3 separate regions of the Homo sapiens genome follow, and all the other regions are linked to region 2. Evidence: promoter capture Hi-C in 16 types of primary human blood cells and fetal thymus (Javierre and others, 2016). All regions are on one chromosome and are shown on one strand. Each heading gives the region's core, a stretch centred on a gene start or on the middle of the fragment in contact. The rest is flanking DNA. Distances are from core to core; before and after follow the strand shown.

Region 1 (4,709 bases), core at 1,121-3,620, 3.6 Mb after region 2:
TCCCATTTTTCCCACGTTTGCATCCTGTTTTGCTCTTGCGTTTGCAACGTATTCCTGCAGCCCGCTGCCCGGAACAAGTTTTATTGGGATATTTATATTCATCTGTGTGCTTCAGTTTCTCTGTATCATTTCTGTTTGCTATTGACTTATATTTTAATTTCTTATGCTATTAAGATGTTACAAGAAATTTGCACGTTAAAATTATTTTTAATTAGTTAGATAAGACATTATCAAACTCAAACATTGATTTCGAATGTCATGAGCTGTTGAGGCATGTGGAACCCTTGCATATTAGGTGATGATGCACATCTGCAGGGAATGCATTCCTATAAAAGTTCCAGTTATTTTTTTAGAGTTATTTGTTCTTGAAAATATTCTGGGAAACAGCTCAAACTTGAAATAGTCATTCCCATAACTAATAATAAGAAAGTGTTGTAAAATCTACAAAAATTGCATGGGTCGAGGTGGGGTAAACACCTAAGAATCTGGAAGAATGTCAGAATCCCTACTCCTAGTTATTGTAACCACTAAGGGACAATCTTGCTTTATTCTTCTTTGCCTTATCTGTGGTTTTGTAGACCACTCTTAAAGCAAAGTATTATAATAGAGCATCCATAAGGTTTAAAGAATTGTGGAAATGCTTGTAATCCCAGAACTTTGGGAGGCTGAGGCAGGCGGGTCACAAGGCCAGGAGTTCAAGACCAGCCTGGCCAGCATGGTGAAACCCCATCTCTACTAAAAATACAAAAAATTAGCCGGGCATGGTGGCACGCGCATGTAATCCCAGCTACTCGGGAGGCGAGGCAGGAGAACTGCTTGAACCCGGGAGGCAGAGGTTGCAGTGAGCCGAGATTGGGCCACTGCACTCCAGCCTGGGCTGCAGAGCGAGACTCCGTCTCAAAAAAAAAGAATAGTGGAAATGGAAATTACAAACCTAACAATATTTTTAATTATGCTAAACTTAATACGTTATTTATGGGAGAAGAGAATCCTAGTATCTCAAGTCCTTAAACTTTTCAAAGTACCAGAGAAGGAGACAAAAAACACTTATATGTGAGTAACTTTAAGGTCGTAAAGAATATGTTTATTAGCCAAATGGAGAATGGGTCTCTTAAAATTTAAATTTGCACAGATTCTTGTCTCTTGCTCCATTTAAGAGGGTTTCTGAGATATTCATAAGTTCTTGCACTATTCAATAGAGTTTTTTCACCTGAGATATTCAGAGTTAAATACAAAAGTCATATTAATCTTTCTGGAATGTAACACTTGGCCTTGAAATACATTAAAAAAAATTTACTTTTATTTAACCTGTAGGCTATGTGGAGTGGAATTTGCTCACTTAAGTTATTATATATACAACATTAATTGGACACGACAGTATATATAGACTATTTTATTCGTTAGAAGAGTCTTCGACACCAGTCTCATTTTTCTCTTTGCCAACTATGAAAGAAAATTGAAATGATGACTTTTTCAAATTTCAACCCAAACACAGCTCAAAGCATAGTTTTCTCAATATATACCAGCTATTAGTAGGAGCACCCATTTCTCCAGGTGACTTCCTGTAGCACACGTATAACTTACAATGCCAAAATTCAAATTAGTCTAAGTAAGTACGTTAGTAAAAAACATTCTATCTAGCTGAGCATGGTGGCTCACACCCATTATCTTAGCACTTTAGGTGGCTGAGGCGGGCAGATCACCTGAGGTCAGGAGTTCCAGACCAGCCTGGCCAACATGGCGAAAACCTGTCTCTACTAAAAATACAAAAATTAGCAGGGCATGGTGGCACACCTCTGTAATCCCAGCTACTCAGGAGGCTGAGGCTGGAGAATTGCTTGAACCCAGGAGGCAGAGGTTGCAGTGAGCTGGGATCGTGCCACTGCACTCCGGCCTAGGTGATAAGAGCAAAACTCTGTCTCAAAACAAACAAACAAACAAAAAAGCCATGCTATCTAATAACTCAGTTCTCTGACTTGATTAAGGGCTAGTATGCCAAAAAACAAAAAAATTGGAATATTGATTTTTTTGAGAATGTTACTAAGTAGCCATGCTGGAAGAAGTTTTCAGATAAGCTTGGATGGTACTGCCTGTTACATTCTTCTCTTGTGACTGATGTTGCATATTAGCATGTTCAATTCCTTCACTCCTAATGTTTTCTAAACTTGACCTTAAAAAATCTTTTTTTCTTATGAAATGTATTAATATGCACTGTAAGTGTTCCATGAAATATAGTTTAAGAAATACTGATGGAGGGAAGGATGGACTTCATAGCCTTCTGGCAGCCCTCCTAGAATATCTTTTCTCATAATTAAACTTTTGATCCATATGTGGCATCAGAGAGCTGAAGGTTATGTTTGTTGTCAAGAATCAGAGCATGAATGCTCTGTGTTGTCAATTAAGGACAAGACATAGACTTTAACATTCAAATAAATGGTATGTAAAATTAATAGTCTCTTAGGGAAATTCAGGAGAAAGACCAAAATACTTGTCAGAATAGACATGCACAGAAATGGGCTGGGAGATCTGTGGAGTACTATAGACAGGCTTAAGGTTTTCCTTAGAAGATAGTCCAGGTTCATTCTTACATATAGGTAAATGAATTCTCCCAGATAAACTATAGTTGTGACTATTGTACCCTGAGAAAAATGTAAAGCAGGATTACGAAGCTTATCCTAGCCATAGTAAAAATTTCAATAATGGATTCACAAAAATCAATATTAACCAATGTAATTTCAGAATGATTTAGGTACAAAATTTAGGTTTATGTAAGTCACTCTCAAATATAGATTTGTCAGTTATCAGTCATTTTGGTTTGTTGTTGTTCTTGTTATTGTTTTGAGACGTAGGCTTGCTCTATTGCCCAGGCTGGAGTTCAGTGGCCTGATCTCGGCTCACTGCAACCTCCACCTCCCAAATTCCAGCGATTCTCCTGCAACCGCTGCCTGGAGTGCAGTGGCCTGATCTCAGCTCACTGCAACCTCAGCCTCCTGAGGAGCTGGGATTACAGGCGTGTACCAAAACGCCTGGCCCATTGAATTTTTGAGAGAATACTAAAAATAATAATTTTATTTTCAGAAACCACATCTTCAGCATAAAGGAAAATAAATGTCAATAACCCTTCGCCACCTCTTGTAATTCCTGTTGAAATCCATAAGGTTATGCTGGGTGCAGTGACTCACATCTTATTTCCAACACTCCAGAGACTGAGGCAGGAGGATAGCTTGATCACAGGAGTTAGAGACCAACCTAGGCAACATAGTGAGACTTCATCTCTATAAAAGTAAAAATAGGCCGGGTGTGGTGGCTCACGCCTGTAATCCCAGCACTTTGGGAGCCTAAGGTGGGTGGATCACCTGAGGTCAGGAGTTTGAGAGCAGCCTGGCCAACATGGTGAAACCCTGTCTCTACTAAAAATACAAAAATTAGCTCGGTGTGGTGGCATGCGTCTGTAGTCCCAGCTACTCAAGAGGCCGAGGCAGGAGAATTGCTCGAACCTGGGAGGCAGAGGTTGCAGTGAGCTGAGATCACGCCACTGCACTCCAGCCTGGGTGACAGAGTGAGACTCTGTCTCAAAAAAAACAAGTAAAAATAAATAATCAATCCATAAGGATATGGTTTAGAATCATGTATATCACATTAAAAATTCCCAGTGTAACCTAGAATCAGTGTGTCTCCATCAAGGTTGACTAAAATTAGACTCATCTTTGGTCCCATAATCCTTCCTGCCTTTACACAAATCTCTGTATAAACTTTATTTTTTATCCTAATAAATGATCTATATCTCTGAAATATTGTGAGAGTGGAACAGATTTTAAGGAAAATAATCAGGTCATATTTTTCTGGAAATTAGAAATTATACTGCTTAGTTCTCTTGTCCTTAGTACATCAACACTAAATATAATGAGGACTGAAACATCTTGGCCCCCCCACAGTAGTTAAAGGATGAATAAAATTTGTGCATAGTTTGTTATATAATCCAAGGAGAGCAAAAATATAAAAAGTATTTTATGGCTTTTATCCTAAATTAGTTATATCTTAAATGTAAACATGTTTAAGTATTTCACAGATATTCTGAAAGGATAAGCCAAAAATAGATTAGGACACAGTAACCCATAGGGGTCAGTATAAACTTAGAATTGGAAGAGACCATATTCTGATTAAAGACATGCTTTTATCTGTTAAGACACACATTGATAGTTTTGGAAAATAATTCAAAACTAAGATACAGTGTCAAATGTACAAAAACTCTCTTCAATTATGGTCTTAATGTTAAAACAGCAAATGAACAATATTCTTTCCACACAGATTTTCTTATTTTGCTGAAATCTAAGCCTATAATTCCATAACAAGCAGATATGTTTATACCAGTGAAATAGATGTCTACAAAAATAAGTTTATTTCAGGCAGAACATACATAAATTCAGGAAAAAAGGAAATATTCACTGTGTAAATAATAAAGTGGATAGCAAATTCAAATATGTGTCTAATATTTAATGTACTATTTTATAATCATTGAGAAGGGAGTGACTTCTTGAAAAAGTGTAAATGACATTTCTAAAACATTTCACTTTTCAAGGGCAGATGTATTGACCTTGATAAAATAATGAAATTATATACTGAAGAAATTCTTCACATTCATTCACCCAAAACGTTATTTATTTGTGCTACAGAAAGGAATCAACTAGTTCGATTTGGCACTCATCAGA
Region 2 (4,551 bases), core at 1,222-3,721:
TGAGGTACTAGGGATTAGTGCTTCAACATACGAATTTGGGGGAGACATAATTCAGTCTAAAACAACAACTAACTAGTTTCATGTATTTCTGCCCTAAGCACTAGTTTAGGCTTTGTTCTGTTCATCTTAGAGCCGATAAAATCTCTCTCAGCCATCCTTCCCCCAAGTAACCCATAGTGAGAAGTGATTGGGGGATTACATTCCATGCAGCCCTCCAAACATTATGTGGGACCCCCTTGGGTACTTAATAAAGACATTCACAGTGACCCATCTGTTGTACAATTAGATGTTTGGGAGTCACCAAAGTTGTTCAGCAACAAGTCCTACTGATTGCCTCTGAAACCAGAGAGAGGCTTTCACAATTCTTTTTTTCCTACAGCATACCAGTTAAATTAGAAATATGCCAGGACATATCTGAGGAATCCTTTCGGTCTCTCCTGGAGTAAGGTAGTATCAATGGTGAGGAAACTATTGAACAAAGTGCTCAACGACCCTTTAGTATTTCTGACAAGCAATAATACAAGAGTTAAGACAGGAGAAGCCTGGAGCTAATTCTTGCAGCTTCCAGTGAAATGTTGGGGAGTTTTTTCTTCTTAAATACTGTTGCATATGATGTGTTAAACAAAAAATTTTAAAGAAAATAAGCCAAATTAGTGGCATTCAGGTAGATCTTCTCAGTCCTTCATGCTGCACATCCACCAAAAGTGAGTTTTACAACTAGTCTCATTGTAACACTTACGGTCAGACTGCAAAATGCACGTGATTTTAACAAGCATAAAATGTCGTTTTCATGAGACTGACTAGACTCTCCTCTTAAGAGTACCTGTAATAATCAGACAACTGCATACACCAGTCTCACAGGAGTTTTAATCTTCAAATGGTCATTTTATCTTACATATACAGAGTGTCTTACAGCATACAGCAATTTCCACTTTATCTGCTAGTGTTAGGACCAGCACTAATAAGAATGAAGAGTATGTTGTTTATCAGCCACAAAAATCTGTGTCTATCACCATGGTTTGACTCTTAATACTCTAATGTCACAAACAACTGGCTTGAAGAAGTGTTTTTTGGTAGGTCCTATATCTAACTGTTCAATCCACTGACAAAAAAAGGGAACTCTTCCCCACTCTAACCGGTTTTCCTAAATGTACGAGGGGTTGACATTAGCTGTCTCACATTAACTTTCAAAAGACCATCAGATGAAAACGTTTCATCAAAAGCCACCTACTTAAGTATGAACAATGACCAAAGAATGACAAATCAAAATTCTGGGCACTATACTAAGAGAAAACTCTTCCAGAACACATACTTAAGAATTAATTTTCTCTCTGAATTTGGCCAAGTTTGGTGGTTTCATTCACAACATTTAAGGAAAAAAATGATGGTTTATGGCTAGCAGATAATAAAACAAACCTTTATACCACTTACTAAATAGAAACGGTTTAGGCTCACAAATATGTTAAAGCTTTCTCTTTCCCCGCAATGGTAGCCAAGCAGCATAAACGAATCAACATTTCCTCAGTTCAGACCTCAACTGGTTACAGGCAAGCAAGGGCTCCTCAGAATTTGCTTTACTAACGGTTTAGGTCAGAAATTTTTTTGAAGATCAAATGTCTTGCTATGTCTTTGTGTTCTTTTTCCCATCTCTATTACGTTTGTTGCCCTGTTGGTCTCCTAACACTTCCATTTTCTCCTTTTATGTTCCTGCTATGCTCTCCAAATGGCAGTAACCTGAAGTATAACTGATCACACCTCTTGTGATTTTTTTTTATTCTAGGACTTCCCAGATCTGGACTCCGAAGAAGACGCCCAGGTGCAAGCCCAAAGGTTACCTATTTAAATTTTCCAAGCACAGTGTGTAGAAAATCATTCCTCGCCCTTCATTTTGTGTTGCTTAACGGCGCTGTCGTGCCTAAACGTAGATACTGGCCAAGAGCTAGATTTCCAAAATGGCTTTGCTCCTTTCGAGCTGACATCGGTCTATAACATGCAATTTATTTCCCCTGCAGCCAATCTTTCTCTCTACTCCAAATACTACCCGATACGCAGAAAGCTGAACCTAACCCAGTGTAAACACCGACTCTCATCTGCTAAATTCAGCAAGGCCGGCAAAGCTGTTGCACTGATGTAAAAAGAGCGTTAAATCAAAAAACCAAAAAAACAAAAAAAAAAACAAAAAAACGCCAAAACACCCACACGAAGCCAACTGGAGGGGCGGGCGTCGGCCGGATCGCGCCCTCCCGCCGCAGCCACGCCTCCCCGCCGCGGCCACGCCCCCTCCGCCCCTCTCCGCGCCGCCGCCGGCGGCCTCCGCGCGGGCCTCCCAGCCCTTATTCCACTCACTTTGTTCTCCGCCTTTGTCCTAATCCACACCAGCAGGTGGAGCCGCAGTTAAAGTTTCCGAGTCCATTCCGGGAGCGGGAGCCCATCTTGCTGGCTGCCGAGGCCCTCGCTGGAGGAGGAGGGTCAGAACTCGGGTGCAGCCAATCGAGGGCAACGCTGCTACTTATCAGAGCAGAATGGGCTGTAGTTTAGTGAAATAGGAAAGCTGCAAAACACTGTGGAGTGCTCCCGTGTAAATAAAAAGAGGAAAAAAGTTTCTCAAGTCGCCGCTGCACGACGTCTGGCCGGCGCTGGAGCGGGGGTCTGCGCTCTCCCGAGCGGCCGCGCGCTGGACTTTATTGTGCCGCAACCAGCCCCAGTTCCCATTGTTTGTGTTTTTTTCAAAATATGGCAAAGGTTCAGGTGAACAATGTAGTGGTGCTGGATAACCCTTCTCCTTTCTACAACCCGTTCCAGTTCGAGATCACCTTCGAGTGCATCGAGGACCTGTCTGAAGGTGAGTGCGGCGCCCGTGCGCCCGGGCTGTCAGTTGCGGGCTGCAGACGTTGAAAGTTTCCCGGGCCGGGCCTCGCGCTGGGCGGCTGTGTTCGGCGCCTGGCGGCCGCGGGCTGCTCTGCGGAGGGAAACTTGAAGTTGATGGACGACGGCCGCCGAGGCGCGCGCGGCTTTCCGCCGCAGCCCAGGCGCCTGCCGGGCTCAACTTGCGAGGAACTTGTTTGAGCGGAGGAGCGGAGGTAGCCATGTTGTCAGCTTTGTCTGCGGGCGGGCAGCTCGGAGACCCGCACTCGCTCCCGCTGCGCCGCCTGAGGTCGCGCCGGGCTGGCTCCGCGCCGCCAACAGCCTCCGCGACCCTCCGGGCCCGAGCACGGAGGCTGGGAAGGGAGAGGCTGTGCGTGTGGTCGCGCCGGCGAGTTCGGAGCGGAGCCATCTTACCCCGAGTCGAGAATTGGGCCAGCGACCCCGGCGCACGGCGCCTCCTCTTGCCCCGCCGCCCGCCTGCCCCCGGCGAAAGGCAGGCAGGCACTCTCGAGAGCTCACGGTGGAGTCGCCGCACTCTCCGGGCTGGCCATGCCTGGCCGCTTCGGGGAGGAGAGCGAGGCTGTCCTCGCGCTGATTTCTGGCTTCCTCGACCAACCAGCGGGGGAGGCGGGCGCAGGCTCGGCCCCTCCGCGCCGCGGGCTGGGCGCCGGCGCTCCCCGGGGGCCGTGGGTCCTGTTCGGCCGGTCCTCCTCGGCCGGCGCCCGGGATGCGCCGGGATGCTGGCGCGCAGGCTCCCCAACCAACGTGGACTCCTTTCCCCTAATGACGAAAAGCTAATTTCAGGAAGAGAAATAGAGCTGAGGTAGGAAGTTACATTTAACCTAAAAGCAGAAATAAGATACTTAAATAATTTCCAGGACTTAATCTCTGCCTTATAAATAGTCTGAAGGAAGACTTTCTTCAAGACCGTGTTGAAATCTAAAATAACTCCACATCCAAATACAGAACACACCCTAAACATAAAACACAAACGTAGGCTAGGAAATTAAGGTCAACTCCTCATGTCAGTCCAAGAATTCTTGGTATTTTTTCTACATATATTTTAAGGTCTTAAAAATACGTATTTTTAATATCTTTAGTAATAAATATTTAGAAAGCTAAAACGACAATTATCTTTGCTTTAATTATCTTTTACTAAAGTAATTCAGTGCTTCATTTGCCAGTTTTGAAGGGGAAATAGTTTAACTTCATCGATGAGGGACATACTTTGAACTAGAAGTATATGTAAAAAATGCATTGAAGATGATTTAGGTAATCGTGGCATGTAAAACTTTTCATTTTAAAAACTAGTTTTTAATCTCTAAAATGTATATATCATATGTAAGGTTAATTTTAATTATAAAACAATATATATTCATTGTAATAAACTTTTAGAAAGTTGTACAGGCATATATAAAGTTAACAGTTCTCTGTACTCAGTGCCTTGCCCTATCTCCTTTCGGTAATCACAATTATTACTTTAACATGTGCCCCCGTTTTTTTTTTTTTTTTAAACCTATATAGAGCATAAATGCACATACATATATAGGGCAAATTTTGAAAGATGATTCATTTATTAAAATAATTTCAAATAGGCCATTGATAACACTAAGGGGTATTTTTCTTATTACTCTGAAGTCATTTGATTACTCTCCTATGATACTACTATTAATATAAGCATTGCAG
Region 3 (5,121 bases), core at 163-2,662, 3.6 Mb after region 2:
CACACACCCCCAAACAAAAAGACAAACAATTATAGTTCCAGGTGACAATTATTTCAGATTCCTTTATAAAATATCAATGTCAAACAACTTAAAAAGGATTTCTTACCAGTTGTAAAAGTTCCTTCTGGAATGAAGAATGCCCCAATAATAATTGCAATTGCTGCAGCAAATTTAAAGAACCAAAATCTAAAACAAAAAGAAATATAATTTTTTATTAATAGACATTCATCAAATAATTTCATATATGAAATCATTTAACTGCATCTTAACAAATAGCTACACTTTATGTGAATGTTCTACTTCTTTCTGAGGATATTATGATCTGGAGTGTAGCCATATTTGTAACTACAAAACAAGGTAATCATCATATTTAGATAACATAGTTTGGAGAGAGAGTGAAATTAACCATTACCATGAACCCAAGCTTATATTATAGATCTTTCCAATTGGAAAAAACAAAGCAAAAAAAATCTGATAAGAAAGGCAAGTCAACATGTGAAAGGAATGGATTAAAGCCCAGACCACGCTAGAGGAAGCATCAGAGCAAATGGCTGGAAAAGAAAGGGAAATGATAAGACATTTTGGGGACTACTGGACACTGGCTCTGAGCTGACATTGATTCCAGGGGACCCAAAACAACATTGTGGTCCCCCAGTTAAAGTAGGCGCTTATGGAGATCATTGGGTCACTCCACCAGGAAAAAAACCACGACCTGCTGAGTTGCTTGCTGAAGGCAAAGGGAATACACAATGGGTAGCAGAAGGCAGTCATCAATACCAGCTATGACCACATGTCCAGCTGCAGAAACGAGGGCTGTAATTGTTGTGAGTACTTCCTCCTTGTTTTGTCAAAAACATGTTCATGCATGCATATACTTGTACTAAGAAAATATCTTCATTTTATTTCCATTCTCCTTTATCATGTGACATAAGATTTACTGACTTCACATCAGCATTTAAGTATTGTTAACTTTATGTAATTAGTATTTTGGTTGGGGACTGGTGCGTTTTCAGTTGTAAGGTTAGTTGTATGACCTTATTATTGTCTTTATTTGCAGATTATGTATGATCTCAGGAGATGTATACGGGTTCAAGTTGACAATGGGTAGACTTCTGATAGTTATACTGAGTGTCAATTGAATTCAAGGATGCAAAGTACTGACTTGTAATGGTTAATACTGAGTGTCAACTTGATTGGATTGAAGGGTGCAAAGTACTGATGCTGGGTGTGTCTGTGAGGGTGTTGCCAAAGAAGATTAACATTTCAGTCAGTGGGCTGGGAAAGGCAGACACACCCTTAATCTGGGTGGGCACCATCTAATCAGCTGCCAGCAGGGCTAGAATATAAAGCAGGCAAAAAAAAAAAGTGAAAAGACTAGACTGGCCTAGCATCCCAGCCTACATCTTTCTCCTGTGCTGGATGCTCCCTGCCCTTGAACATCAGGCTCCAAGTTCTTCAGTTTTGGGACTAGGACTGGCTCTCCTTGCTCCTCAGCTTGCAGATGGCCTATTGTGGGACCTTGAGATCATGTGAGATAATACTTAATAAACTCCCCTTTATATATATCTATCTATCCTATTAGTTCTGTCCCTCTAGAGAACCCTAATACACTTGATTATCAGAAAAAACAACAATTACATAAACTGCTTTTAAGACCATTTTGAGAAAGATGTATTTCTCACTAATTCATTATGGAAAAATGAGAATGTTAGTTCCATTTCACAGGCTTATTTCACATAAGTGGGATAATGTATCAAAGTATAAGGTGAACTGTATAAATGAATAGTTTTTATAAACACATGATAAATGCCTCCATCTAAAACTCTAATAATTTAATAAAATAATCAATGACCAAAGGAACAAAATAAAGGAAAAGCAACCCGTCACATATTTTCTCATTAATATTTATATTCTACTTGTTTATACTTTTTGTCTTTGGTAGCACATATAACTAGATAAGCAACAGCAGATATTAAAACAGTCAAATAAGGGTACCAGAAGTAGTGCTCTATATGAAGGAAGATTGATAAAAGAAACCCTGAAGTTTCTTTCTGGGTTGTCCAATACAACCAACCTAGAAAAATCTGCTCTCTGGGTCTAGGGAACTGAGAGTTCTATGTAAGTGGACTGGTCCACCTAAAGTTAACAGTAGAAGGAGAAATAGCTATTCCCTTAGTAGTCACAAATATAATAGAGCCTCTTTTTTAGTATGAAAATATAAAACACTGTGGATCAGAGGTTATCACAGCTATTATTTAATATCCAAAGTCTGACATTCTCCAGTAAAAACAAGATTTTCTTATCCTGTCATTCATGAATAAAGTAATTCTGCAAATTGTATAAGTTTATTTTACCTTAAAGTTTCCTTGGATAAACTGGCAATTATCAAGAAGAGGCTACCCAAGCTTTTATATTGAAGCTTATTTAAAAACTTACCCATTGTGCACTGCAGCTCTAGGATCACTGCTACTCTTCACTTTGATCATTAGTAAAGAGAGAAGAAGATAGAACATAGCCAAACCAAAGCACAAACGATATACAGCTTTATAGCCAACCAAAATGTTACAAGGGACAACACCTTTCTCATTCTCACAAAATCCAGGAATCTAGAAAAACAAAAGAGTTTATGATCCATCATTTTTTTTCATTAAGTAAAAATAAAAATTACATGTAATCAAATAGTTTAAGTAAAGGTTTAGAAAACTGGCATTTGCTTTACAATTTATGATGAATATGTACTCAAGATGAGTCTGATACATTTTAATCACATACAGTGGGGAAAAAAGAGTTAAATCCCCATCTGCGCAAATCATAAACTACAATACCAACTCTATGCTGGTTGCTTATTTTGAGTTATAGATTTATCCTACATTTTAAAAACTTGCATTCTACTTGAATAGCACGATAGACTTGTTTTAGTAGTGTAAGTGCTATTTCTGAGACTACTGTTCAGAACTATTAATACATCTATTATTCATATATATAAGAATAAATTATTTCCTCCCACTCTTTCCAGTCCCAGCACTCTAAAAAAACTGCTTTTCCAGGATACTAGTCATGTACTGGTTTCCAAACCCAAAGGCTACTGCTTAATCACATTCCTTAATCTCATTTTTATATAGACACTATCCCTGTCATTCTTAAAACTTTCTTCCTAGAACCTATACATTTTCTTTGTTCTTTTCTGTTATCCCTTCCCTCCCAGTTTTCTAGGATCAGAATCAGGTTTTCCTTTCTCCACTAACTCCCTTAAGTAAGAGATTTTGGCAGAGTTCTAGCTCTGCTCACTCTGAATGATCTTCAGCATACGCTGCCATGGTTTCAACATTCAATTTCTATCCTCAAGGCAGTCTCTAGCTCTGATTTCTCTTTTAAATTCCTTCATGTTTTCTACTTACTGCTGTATATTATTATGGACTTCGTGTTTGTGTCTACCCAAAATTAAATGCTGAAACTCTAACCCTCAATGGGAGGATAGTGGGAGATAGGGCCTTTATGTGGTAATTAAATCATGAGGGTAGAGCCCTCAGGATGGGATTAATGCCCTTATAAAAACAGACAGAAGAGAGCTGCTGCTTTCTTTCAAAAATGTAAGATGGCCATGTGTAAACCAGGAATAAGATCCTCATCAGAACTTGACCATGGTGGCACCCTGATCTCGGACTTTCAGCCTCCAAAACTGAGAAATAAATTTTTGTTGTCTTAAGCCACCCAGCCTATGATATTCTTGTTATAGCAGCCTGAACTGAGTAAGACATACATATATATATATATATATACATGTACACGATACAATACCACCAAGTCAACATGTTAGAAACTAAATTTATTATGTGTTCCCAATCTCCTTCCACAACCTGACTCTCTCTAAAAATTTTCCTTTCTAGGTTAATAGCAATACTTTCCTCCCGGTTTTGTAGGACCAGAACCTGGTTGTTATTTATGATTCCATATCACTGCCAATATTTCAGTGCTAGGCTCAGTCAATTTTACATCCAGAAAATCTTATTTCAGGTCCGCTATTCTCTTCTTGATTATACCACTGCAACAGCCTCCATATTTAACTGCTTGACTTTTATACTTTATTAATTGTAAGATTAATCTTCCTAAAGTATAGATACTTTGCTTGAAAAGCTCTTTTATACTCATTATGCTTTCTATTTTTCAATCTCTGTATATGCAAGTTCTAATCATTCTTAGAACATCCTTTTTTCCATGACCCATTGAGATTCTGACACCTGGTTAGAATTATACTTCTTTCTGTGTATTACCACAGTACATTTCCTGTACCACCATCATAGAACTTAACAAACTAATGTATATTATCTTTTTCCTAAAAGATTATGAACTACAACTAGGATTACATACTGTCTTATTCTATATTATTCTGTTTACAATATCCCCGAATCAATTTTATACATATACATATATACCCTATAGCCTCAGTTAATCAATAAATAAGAAACGAGACTAACCTTATTCAGTTGTTCTTCCATTCCTGGTATCAACATTACACAAGCTACACATACTCCAACAAGCAAGAAAAGTGCATAGATCAATCTAGTTACAGTGGAGTTGTTTCCACTAGGACAGCATCGGCATAGCAAACACGGGGCACTTCCACACAAACATGGTATCTGGGAAAAAGAATATTATTGAAAATATTATTAAGAATCAGTAAATCACTATATCTTAAAATGATACAATGAAAATTGACATTCTATCTGTTAAAAAAGAAAAAAGACTAAAAGTAATTACATCAAGGGACATACGGTATTTGGTTCATATAAATTATCTATATACCACAAAACTTAGCAACTTCTAAGAAGGAGTAAAGACAAAAAAAATCCTTGGACTCTATGCCAAGTAAAACGGACAAATCAGCTAAAACAAAAAGGGGAAAAAATCATCAGCAGTAACCAAAGTTTAAAGAGGAAAAGAAATGGAATATTCATGAGTAGCACAGCTGCTAAGCCCACCTCCAGCCCCTGACCTTTAGCCCCCAGATACTAGACTGATGAATACAAAAAATTCCGAGGATTCTCAAATACATCCAGGGAGGGAAAAAAAAGTGAATTGATATATTTTCCTTCTTTTGACCTGGCGATAGTGATAATAATG

What was found. Contacts are between HindIII fragments. The CHiCAGO score rates a contact against its expected background, and 5 or more counts as called.
Region 1: a contact is called between a fragment that was not itself captured here and the fragment with the promoter of ASF1A in region 2, in 4 of 17 cell types (naive B cells, naive CD8 T cells, total B cells and 1 more). The highest score is 6.9, in naive B cells.
Region 3: a fragment that was not itself captured here is called in contact with the fragment with the promoter of ASF1A in region 2 in 1 of 17 cell types (total CD8 T cells); the score reaches 5.2 in total CD8 T cells.

Annotation. Positions count from the first base shown.
Region 1 is chr6:122,472,212-122,476,920 of GRCh38, forward strand. It overlaps a transcript of PKIB not described here. Among named protein-coding and RNA genes, the nearest start is that of SERINC1, 2.8 kb to the left of the region's middle. The HindIII fragment of the contact is 594 bases long and covers 2,074-2,667 here.
Region 2 is chr6:118,891,681-118,896,231 of GRCh38, forward strand. ASF1A (anti-silencing function 1A histone chaperone) reads left to right here and starts at 2,472. Exons shown (of 4, transcript NM_014034.3): 1 at 2,472-2,842. The coding sequence starts at 2,734. All of the region lies in intron 8 of MCM9 (minichromosome maintenance 9 homologous recombination repair factor), which reads right to left. RefSeq lists silencers at 2,207-2,346, 3,137-3,666 and an enhancer at 2,667-2,756. The HindIII fragment of the contact is 9,487 bases long and covers 1,467-4,551 here.
Region 3 is chr6:122,454,045-122,459,165 of GRCh38, forward strand. SERINC1 (serine incorporator 1) reads right to left here. Exons shown (of 10, transcript NM_020755.4): 2 at 4,476-4,637; 3 at 2,437-2,606; 4 at 107-186. Among named protein-coding and RNA genes, the nearest start is that of SERINC1, 15 kb to the right of the region's middle. The HindIII fragment of the contact is 1,981 bases long and covers 423-2,403 here.